3 separate regions of the Homo sapiens genome follow, and regions 2 and 3 are each linked to region 1. Evidence: promoter capture Hi-C in 16 types of primary human blood cells and fetal thymus (Javierre and others, 2016). All regions are on one chromosome and are shown on one strand. Each heading gives the region's core, a stretch centred on a gene start or on the middle of the fragment in contact. The rest is flanking DNA. Distances are from core to core; before and after follow the strand shown.

Evidence for each region. Contacts are between HindIII fragments. The CHiCAGO score rates a contact against its expected background, and 5 or more counts as called.
Region 2: a fragment that was not itself captured here is called in contact with the fragment with the promoter of CSTA in region 1 in 1 of 17 cell types (monocytes); the score reaches 5.6 in monocytes.
Region 3: a contact is called between the fragment with the promoter of CD86 here and the fragment with the promoter of CSTA in region 1, in 8 of 17 cell types (monocytes, M1 macrophages, M0 macrophages and 5 more). The highest score is 12.2, in monocytes.

Annotation. Positions count from the first base shown.
Region 1 is chr3:122,323,443-122,326,713 of GRCh38, forward strand. CSTA (cystatin A) reads left to right here and starts at 1,806. Exons shown (of 3, transcript NM_005213.4): 1 at 1,806-1,916. The coding sequence starts at 1,851. The HindIII fragment of the contact is 6,914 bases long and covers 1-3,271 here.
Region 2 is chr3:121,851,843-121,855,113 of GRCh38, forward strand. It overlaps EAF2 (ELL associated factor 2), which reads left to right. Exons shown (of 6, transcript NM_018456.6): 3 at 2,845-2,981. Among named protein-coding and RNA genes, the nearest start is that of EAF2, 18 kb to the left of the region's middle. The HindIII fragment of the contact is 3,072 bases long and covers 107-3,178 here.
Region 3 is chr3:122,053,749-122,057,019 of GRCh38, forward strand. CD86 (CD86 molecule) reads left to right here and starts at 1,614. Exons shown (of 7, transcript NM_175862.5): 1 at 1,614-1,755. The coding sequence starts at 1,742. It also overlaps a transcript of ILDR1 not described here. The HindIII fragment of the contact is 6,821 bases long and covers 1-1,646 here.

The sequences.
Region 1 (3,271 bases), core at 556-3,055:
ACATCATTATAAAGAAACAAGCACCTCCCTGTATTGTGATATAGAACAGTCTCCAAAATATATTGTTAGGAATAAAACAAAAAGTATAATAATTTATGTAGGATACCATTTTTATAAAAGAAAACCTATATAGATGAATATGTATCTATGTGTGTGTGTGCGTGTGTGTGTAGCCAATTTTTTTTTTTTTTTTTTTTTTGAGACACAGTATTGCTCTGTCACCAGGCTGGAGTGCAGTGGCGCGATCTTGGCTCACTGCAACCTCTGCCTCCCAGGTTCAAGCGATTGTCCTGCCTCAGCCTCCTGAGCAGCTGGGACTACAGGCGCACGCAACCACGCCCAGCTAATTTTTGTATTTTTAGTAGAGATGGGGTTTCACCATGTTGGCCAGGATGGTCTCAATCTCTTGACCTTGTGATCCACCCACCTCGGCTTCCCAAAGTGCTGGGATCACAGGCGTGAGTCACCGTGCCCAGCCTCCAATTATTTTTATATTTGTATGTGTAAAGAATGTCTCTGAAGGATACAGAAGAAGTTGGTGCCAATAATTGTCTCTGGAGAGTAGAAGGGTGTCTGAGGAATTAAGTGAGTGAATAATTCCTTATATTGTAAAGCCTGGTTCCTTCCAAACATTTTTATCCTGTGTATGTATTATATATTCCCAAAATTGAATAAAATAATATACATAAATATTCACACAATGTGGCCATTTTGCTTCTAGATAAGTTGTCTGCAGAAGCCCTCACTCATGTAAAAAGGAGAAAAAATGCAACGTTGTTTGTAAGAATGAAACACCAGAAACAACGAAAATCGTCATCAATAGAGAAATGAGTATGTAAAATATGAACTAGAATATAGCAATTAGATAGGTAGACTAAATAGATAGGTCTAGCATAAAATAGCATATCACAGTTAAAGGAAATGAACAGGATTGATCTATCTGTGGATTGATCTATGTGTATATCAACATAGAAAGGCTCAAAAACATGTTGAATAGAAAAAGGAACATAACATAGAATATATTTAGCATACAATTTAAGTGAAATTTTAAAGACACACCAAGTAAGACATATTTTAATTTTAAAGACACACATATAAAAATGGCCTGGAAGGATATTAATTCACCATGTACTTTGCCTTCTGGAAGGCAAGGTTGCGTGGGGTGTGGGGCTTCCTCCATATCTGTAATATTTTATTTCCTAAAAATAACTACAAAAATAAAAAACAGCAAGCAAATATGACAAAAGGGTTAAAAGTTTTAATTCTGAGTGATAGAAATATAGATGTTTGTTATTTTATTCTTTGTGTTTTACCGTATGTTAAACATTTCCAGATATTTAAATAAGAGTAAAGAAGACACATCCAGCCAAGGTCCTCCAGATAGATCCTTTTGCTTTCTTTCTAAAGTCAAGTAAATTCTAAACTAACCTTGACATTATTAGTAAGTTTTGCTTTAAAAAAAATAAAATTTTGTGTTAGAAGTTTTAAAACATTTGGAAATTCTAGTTGCGGCTTCAGATTTCATAATTCAGATGATGCAACAGGATGGAACCATTGTCAAAGAGAATGCAGGGACGTTTGATGCTTGTTAGGACATGACTCCTGTACTTGCCCATTTGTTCATCCTCCAACCCCTCTTTCTTCCAAATTCCATGTAGCATATTCTCTCCAGGAAGCAAGAAGACTTGCCTGGCGGCATACTCATTTTCCCCATGCCTCTTTGCTGTTTGTGGAAAATAAAGCATTCTATAGGCGGAGCTAGTGAACGCCTCTTTTAAAACACGAGTCTCCACACTTCCCTGTTCACTTTGGTTCCAGCATCCTGTCCAGCAAAGAAGCAATCAGCCAAAATGATACCTGGAGGCTTATCTGAGGCCAAACCCGCCACTCCAGAAATCCAGGAGATTGTTGATAAGGTGAGTTGATGCCATTCAGGAAAAAGTCTGAGCCAAAATCTTGATTCATAAGTTGTCCCTGTGGAAAGGCTGTGGTTGAACATGAAAACCAGAAGTTTAGGATGTTTGTGGCTTTGTTCAGGTTTCTTTACAACTAAGATGAAATAAGAGTTTTTCAGATGAAGCCTCAAATAATCCCCAAACTGTGAGTGTGACCTTGAGCAAATCACATTTCTTCTCTGAGCTTCATTTTCTCCATGGGTAAAAGAATTTGTATTGTATCTTCTCTAAAGCTCTTACAAGATATGATTCTAGAATTACTAATTCAGTTTCTGATGAAACTTTTCTAATCTCACCAAGTGAAGCCAACGTGTAATTGAAGTCTAAGGTTATTAACAATTTGATGAAGTAGTCTTGGAATGCACTGCAGGGAAAATTTTTTTAAATAGATTGAATGAAGAATAATATTGTAAAGGCAATCTACTTACAAACTTCATACACTTTTGCCCAAATAGATAGTGTTTTAGTCTTTTCATAGTTAAAAGGTAATTCAACTAATAGAACAGAGGTGACAGTCTATAGTGACTCCGAAATGTCATAGGGCACCAAATTATATATGGAAAAATAGAACTCAATGTTGTTAGCAGATTGATGTGTTTTTCACTTCTTCTTTTTTGTTTTGTTTTGTTTCATTTTTAAGAGATGGGGTCTCACTCTGTCACCCAGGCTGGAGTGCAATGGTCTGATCACGGCTCACTGTAGCCTCAACTTTTTGAGTTCAAGCGATCCTCCCCACTCAGCCTCCTGAGTAGCTGGGATTACAGACATATGCCACCACGCCTGGCTGATTTGGGGGGTTTTGTTTTGTTTTGTTTTTAGAGATGGCATTTCATTCTGTTGCTAGACTGGTCTTGAATTCCTGGGCTCAAGCCATCCACTCACCTAGGCTTCCCAAAGTATTGGGATTACAGGCGTGAGCCACCACACCCATCCCTGATATATTTTTCTTTGTGTGATTAGCTATCATCTAGCTATGTAGTAAACATTTATTTGCATATTTTATGAAAGGAAAACATGTACAAATTACTACTTTAGGTTTTTAGTTTGTTGCCTTATTTTCTTATATTATTCCTTCTTATTTTTTCTCTCTGAAACATCATTCTATGACAGCTTGGAAAACAAGATCAGCTTTTTGTGTGATTATAAGAGTTGGGATCCTGTATATTCTGGGAACTAGAAAGCTCTCTAAGGGGCCAGATGCCTAGAATCCCATCACTCATTCTTGGGGACTAATTATTTCTCTTTCAAGAGTTCTTTTTTTAAATAAATATCTTGGAGCTTTTTTCCTGGGAGATGATATTAAGTCAGTAATGTCT
Region 2 (3,271 bases), core at 393-2,892, 470 kb before region 1:
TTCAATAGTTATTTAGAGGCAATGATAGTTCATATGCTTAGTAGTTGTCTGGTACTTTAGTAGTTGCCTTTCTTGGGGTATTGAATAAGGAATGGACAGAAACTGAAGCTTAAAAGTTAGGAATGGTGTTCAATTTAATGAGGGAGAAAGTTTACATTTATAAAACTTGTTCAAAATGTAGATGGCAGGTGTAGAGATTATGAAAGATTTGTTTCATTTGTTACTTATGACCAGAAATTGTCTATATTATTCATATTTAACCTTCATTGAATATTTATAAAGGTCTTGATACTTCTTCAGGTGCTGAGAGCAATTTTTTAAAAATTAATGATTAGTTCTTATTTTCAGGAGCTCAGAGAACAATAATACATTGTAATTTTTAGATGTATTCCATTCTAATTAAGAGTACAGATATCATTAAGAATATCTTGCACAAATCTCTTATCAACTGTAATTTGGAGTCCTTAGGTAACTATTTTGGGGTATCTTACTTGTTTCAGTCAACACATCTGAAAAATTTACTTACCAGCCAAGTAGACCCACTTTGTTTGGTTATAATCATGCTCCTGACTCTCCAGCTTACCAGGGCTTCAACTAAGTGCTCCACATCTAACCGTTTTAGAGCTAGCCCAGACATGTCTTCATCTACGTGTTGTGCATTCTTGATTTTCTGTAGATTACTTTAGTCTTTGGGAGAGGTAAAAAACCCACAAACAACTGTTCCTTTATTTTACATTTATAATTTTCCCTCCATACCTTCAGAAATCTCTAACCTACCCATCTTTTATGGCATTTTCAATTACCTAATTTATCTTATACTCCTCCTAGTGCTCATTTAGTAAATCTCTAATGATTAACTTTAATATGATACACCACTTAGCCTTTTTAGAGGTCATCCTTTTCTAACCTGATCTAACAGTACTATTTTATTATTTTTGTAATATTTGATAAAATTATTATGATAAATCCATTAAAATTTAATGTACTTTTATAAACTCCAAAGACAAACATACACAAATAATTGTTTAGAAATACATATATGTGGGATAAAGCAAAAGAATGACAAACGTAAAATTCCTTCAGGTTTGATGGAGCAGGGACAAAAGATAGGGGAGGAGCATGTAAGTAGATGTAGTTTATTAGTAATGATCTAGGTTTCTTTTATTGCCAACAGAATTGTATAATGAATTACATGTACCCATCACTGAGCTTTAACAATTATCAACATTTTGCTAATCTTTTTATTTTTTAATCTAATGTCTTACCATTTTTTTCCTTGGCATATTTTATAGCAAATCCCAGACAATGTGCCATTTCATCAATGCTTACTTATGTATCTCTAACTGATAAGGACATTTCTATCTAAGCACCATGCTATTATCACAAATAACATAATTGATAATACTTCGTCCATAGTCACAATTTTGTGATGATCTCAAAAACGTGTTTTTTACAGACATTTGTCTGTAAAATGTCCTAACTAGAATCCAAATAAGATTTCTACATTGTATTTGAATATTGTATTTCTTGTCTCTTTTATTCTTTAAAAGTCCCTTCCTTTCTTCTCCACCCCTTTTTTAATTTATCTTTTTTAGAGACAGGGTCTCACTGTGTTGCCCAGGTTGGAGTGCAGTGGCTATTCACGGGTGTGATTATGTCACACTGAAGCCTAGAACTCCTGGCTTCAAGCTGTCCTCCTGCTTCAGCACCCATCCTCCACAAGTAGCTGGTACTACAGTGCCTGCACCTGGCTCTCTTCTCTTTTTTATGCCATTGGTTTGTTGGAAAAACCGTACTATCTGTCCTAGAGAATATACCTACATTCTGGACTTCAAATTACTTCTATCTGGATGTATTTAACTTGTTCCTCTATTCCTTCTATTTTCTATATATTGGTAGTTATATATCTAAGGGCAGGCTGGATTACAGATTCTTTGGGGTTTGATAAGAATTAAATTCTTTGGGGTTTTTGTGTGGTTTTTGGCAAGAGTATTTTATGGATGGCGCAGTGTACTTTCATATGACATCATTAAGCACATAATGTCTGCTTATCTTACTTTTAATTATGCTAAATTTAATTAGTGGGTTTAGTGTAAGAGGTGTTCCTTAATATGCATAGGGAGGTACTGCTTTAAGAAAATGCCAGATTTTAAAAATTAAACTTATAAAGCAATAAGAAAGAAGATGAGGAGGCTGGGCACAGTGGCTTCTGCCTGTAATCACAGCACTTTGGGAGACTGAGATGGGTGGATCACTTGAGGTCAGGAGTTCGAGACCAGCCTGACCAACATGGTGAAACCCCGTCTCTACTAAAAATATAAAAATTAGCTGGGCGTGGTTGTCCATGCCTATAGTCCCAACTGCTCTGGAGGCTGAGGCAGGAGAATCACTTGAATCCAGGAGGTGGAGGTTGCAGTGAGCCGAGATCGTGCCACTGCACTCCAGCCCGGGCAACAGAGCAAGACTCTGTCTCAAAAAAAAAAAAAAAAAAAGGAGGAATAGAAAATATGATTCAAGGCTCTGTTTCCTTATCCATAAAATATATTGGTTGTGTTCGAATTGAATCTCAATTACTCATTATAGGCCAAAGAAACAAATCTTTACTGTCCCAAGGTGAGTACCTCCTGTCTTCCCTTTCCTCAATGACAGCAGCTTTGAGATTTCAGCCTATCTTCATCTGTCTTTTTTACTACACTCTTTGGATTCAGGGTAGTAAATTTAGGTAGTTTATGGGTGACTTGAAGTATAACATAGAAGGAGAAACCCAGAATCAAGATTTCAAAGGCCTTCCCAAGTGAATTCCTATGATAAATTTTAAGTAATAATAATTAACTTTTTAAACAGGGTTCAACTCCACCAGTAACTGTTTTCAAAGGTTCAAAAAAACCTTACTTAAAAGAATGCATTTTGATTATTAACCATGATACTGGAGAATGTCGGCTAGAAAAACTCAGCAGCAACATCACTGTAAAAAAAACAAGGTATGTGGTTTAATGAAATAAATTATATTATAAACATAAATTTCTAAGGAAATGTCAATAAAAAATTTATTAAGTCACATTATAATATAGGAGTTATTTCTGTGTGGTACAAAAATGTTTTAATCTTTTTCTAAGTTTAAATTTGGTGGAGATCCTAAGCAAAAAGCGTTTTACCACATTACCCTGTGATATATAAAAGCTTGTTTTGCTTCTAAATGCTTTCTATAGGTATAGGTACACTTTTTATCCTATTGTAGATACTTCTGTATAACTGGATTGAAGGAAGCCAT
Region 3 (3,271 bases), core at 364-2,863, 270 kb before region 1:
AGAAAATGCTTATGCTATCTTAAATAAAAATTTGAGTGTATGCATTGATACCAAGAAATGGAAATTTGAGTGTGTACACTGCTACCAAGAAACTGAAAAATGACATCCCATACCTTTAATATTTAATATTTATAACAAATGAGGTTTACATGGATTTTTTTATCTCATCTTATTTCTGATGTGTTATGTAGTTATAAATACTATTTTATTTGCACTCCTGCTCTGCAATAATTTTGAAGATAGATAACTTATATTATTGCTGTCTTCATTTTTTAAAATTCTCAAATCCAGATGAAATTATCAAAGTTGATAAAATAATCATTGTTCTATCTTCTTATTTGAAGATTAATAATTGTGTTGATTTTGCTTCCTTGCTCTAGTTAGCAGTGATGTCATCTGCTATTTTTAAACTTCCTTGAAATAATATATGTAATCTACTTCTAATAAGTTTTTCTTATTTAGCATTTTGGTCTAAACTAATTTATAATTATTTAGCCTTATTTCTCCATGTTTAACTTGCTTTAAAGCTCAGCACTGGTGTTTTCAGCCATGGCTTCTCCATTTTAAGGCTATTTTAATTCATTTATTATTCTGGAATATATCCTTAAATAATTTATTTAGGAAGGCTGTCTTGGTGGTGGTATTTCTGTTGCAGTTGTTGTTTTCTTGCCTGCTTGGTGACATATTTCTATTGACTTGACACTTAACTGGCATCTTATCTAGGTAGATAATGCTAATTCAAAATTCTGCAGATATTGTTCTGTTGTTTTTTGCCATTTAGGGTTGAGTAAGATGCCAAGTTGTTTTTTGTTTCTCTGTAGTCATTCTGTTTTCATTTTGTTTTTAGCTTTGCCTTTGGAATTTAAAATGTTCAAAATGATTTGTCTGGATGAGAATCGATTTTCATAACTTTTGCTTTGATACACTAAACAGTTTGAGTTTCTAGATGATGCCCATTTTAATTCATACGAGGAAATATCTTCTAGTATAGTTTCTGCTTGATTAATTCTATGTTTGTCTCTTAGGGACATCTATTAATTTTATAATGCTGCCTTTTTTTCAGACTTCTGTTTCAGAATATTCGCTTTCATCAATGTAATCCTTGGCTATAGTAGGAATGAAATAATAAAAGCAGTAGCTTCTGTCTGCCCTCCTTGGTTATGCAGTCCTTACAGAACATCTCCCCATCTCCCATCCCCCCACCCCAGCTCAGTGAAACTCTCCACACTTTGGTTGTGGAAATTGGCAGGGTTAGGTGGCTACTCACTCCCAATCCACATCCACAATAAATCACTTTTTATTATCTTATCAAAATCTGTAGAATGCCTCTTTATTCTATTTTGTTGCTGCGGAGGTTTGTTTTCTCTTTCTAATTATTTTATTTTCTAGGTTTTTTGAGGGAATTTCAAGAGGGGAGATTTTTTATTCAGGCTCATCTTAACGTCATGTCTGGAACTCAAGCTACTGAATTATATATTCTTTAATACATATAGACCTACGTCAATGAGTTTAAACTGCAAGGAAAGGGTTAAATTTCTTCCTCAAGTGTGGTCAAAATCTGTAGAGAAAAGAGGAACAGCTTCTCTTAAAGAAAGTTAGCTGGGTAGGTATACAGTCATTGCCGAGGAAGGCTTGCACAGGGTGAAAGCTTTGCTTCTCTGCTGCTGTAACAGGGACTAGCACAGACACACGGATGAGTGGGGTCATTTCCAGATATTAGGTCACAGCAGAAGCAGCCAAAATGGATCCCCAGTGGTGAGTAATAATTCTTATTCTTTGCAGAGAAGTTATGAGTTGTGACTGCAGTGAAAGGCTGAGGTTGAAGATGGTGCTTTGATGTGTGTCCTTCACTTAGTTCCTAAGTGGAGAAGCTTTCTTTTTCTACAAAAGATCTTTGGCACATAAAGGCAAGAATTATTTGCAATGCCCAAAGCAGTTCATTGGTGGTAGTTATATATATTTTTAGGTGCCTAATTTTGGTTTTGTAAATCTGTTATTCAAATACTGAATGTTACAGTCATTGATTTTAGTGAAGAATCAGGAATTTTTAAAATATCTGCATAAGAATGACAAATAACAGGGAATATGTTTTTTGTCTACCAGGGTCAGTTTGGTCTGAGGGTGGAGGAATGAGATAGAGAAGGTAGAGGGAGAGAGATCAAGAAAAAGAAAGAGAAAAAAGAGGTATAAGGAGAAAATGCAAAACTCAGTTAATATGTCATAATCAGGCCATGGGAGATTCTGGGCAGGGTTGGGTAGTGGAAGGAGGTAGAGTGATTAAATTAGTTACCATGTATTGAACATGCATGATGTGCTGGGTACTTTACTAGTGCTATTTCATTGAATTTTATTCTTCACAATGACTTTTGGAAAGACATCATCATTCTTTTTGACAGATGGGGTAACTGTGGCTTAAAAAACTTGCCCAAGTTCACACTATTCATAAGGGGTAGAGCTAAAATCTTTCCTGCCCGCTTCGTGGTGCGCCAGAAGGTTTCTCCATGCTGTGGAGACTTCCTGGAAGGAGTCACACCCGCCCTTCTCTTGGGTGGTGGCAGCTGGCGCCAGTCACTATGTATTTATTTATTTTTAATTATTTATTTTTGAAACAGAGTCTCGCTCTGTCGCCAAGCTGGAGTGCAGTGGCGCAATCTCAGCTCACTGCAACCTCCGCCTCTCGGATTCAAACGATTCTCCTTCCTCAGTCTCCTGAGTAGCTGGGACTACAGGCGCCCACCACCACGCCCGGCTAATTTTTGTATTTTTGGTAGAGACGGGGTCCACCATGTTGGCCAGGATGGTCTCGATCTCTTGACCTTGTGATCTGGCCACCTCGGCCTCCCAAAGTGCTGGGATTACAGGCGTGAGCCACCGCGCACCCGGCCGTCACTATGTATTTATAATTACTGTTCTTTGAAAATCGAAGTAACTTTCATCTACCCAGTGCTTACTGGTTTGAGAAAAAGCTTTGTTGCTTTTATTTCAGAAGATTAAAATTTAATTTTCCAGTAAAGATTCCTTTTGCTCCAGTGGAATTTTGAAGCGTTATACTTGTATGAAGAAAAAAAGAATTTCAAAATTTATAATTTTTGTGGTACCATAGAGGGGATACTACTTAATTATGCTAGCACTGTCTGCAGAGGTCTAAAAAACCATAGGCTGCTGTCTATATTGAACTTGTTAAGATTCCTTTTGTTTCACAGTGCCTGAAGATTGGTCATGAACCAGTAATAGCCATTAAACAATGTCTGTTCTCATAAGAGATGAAATA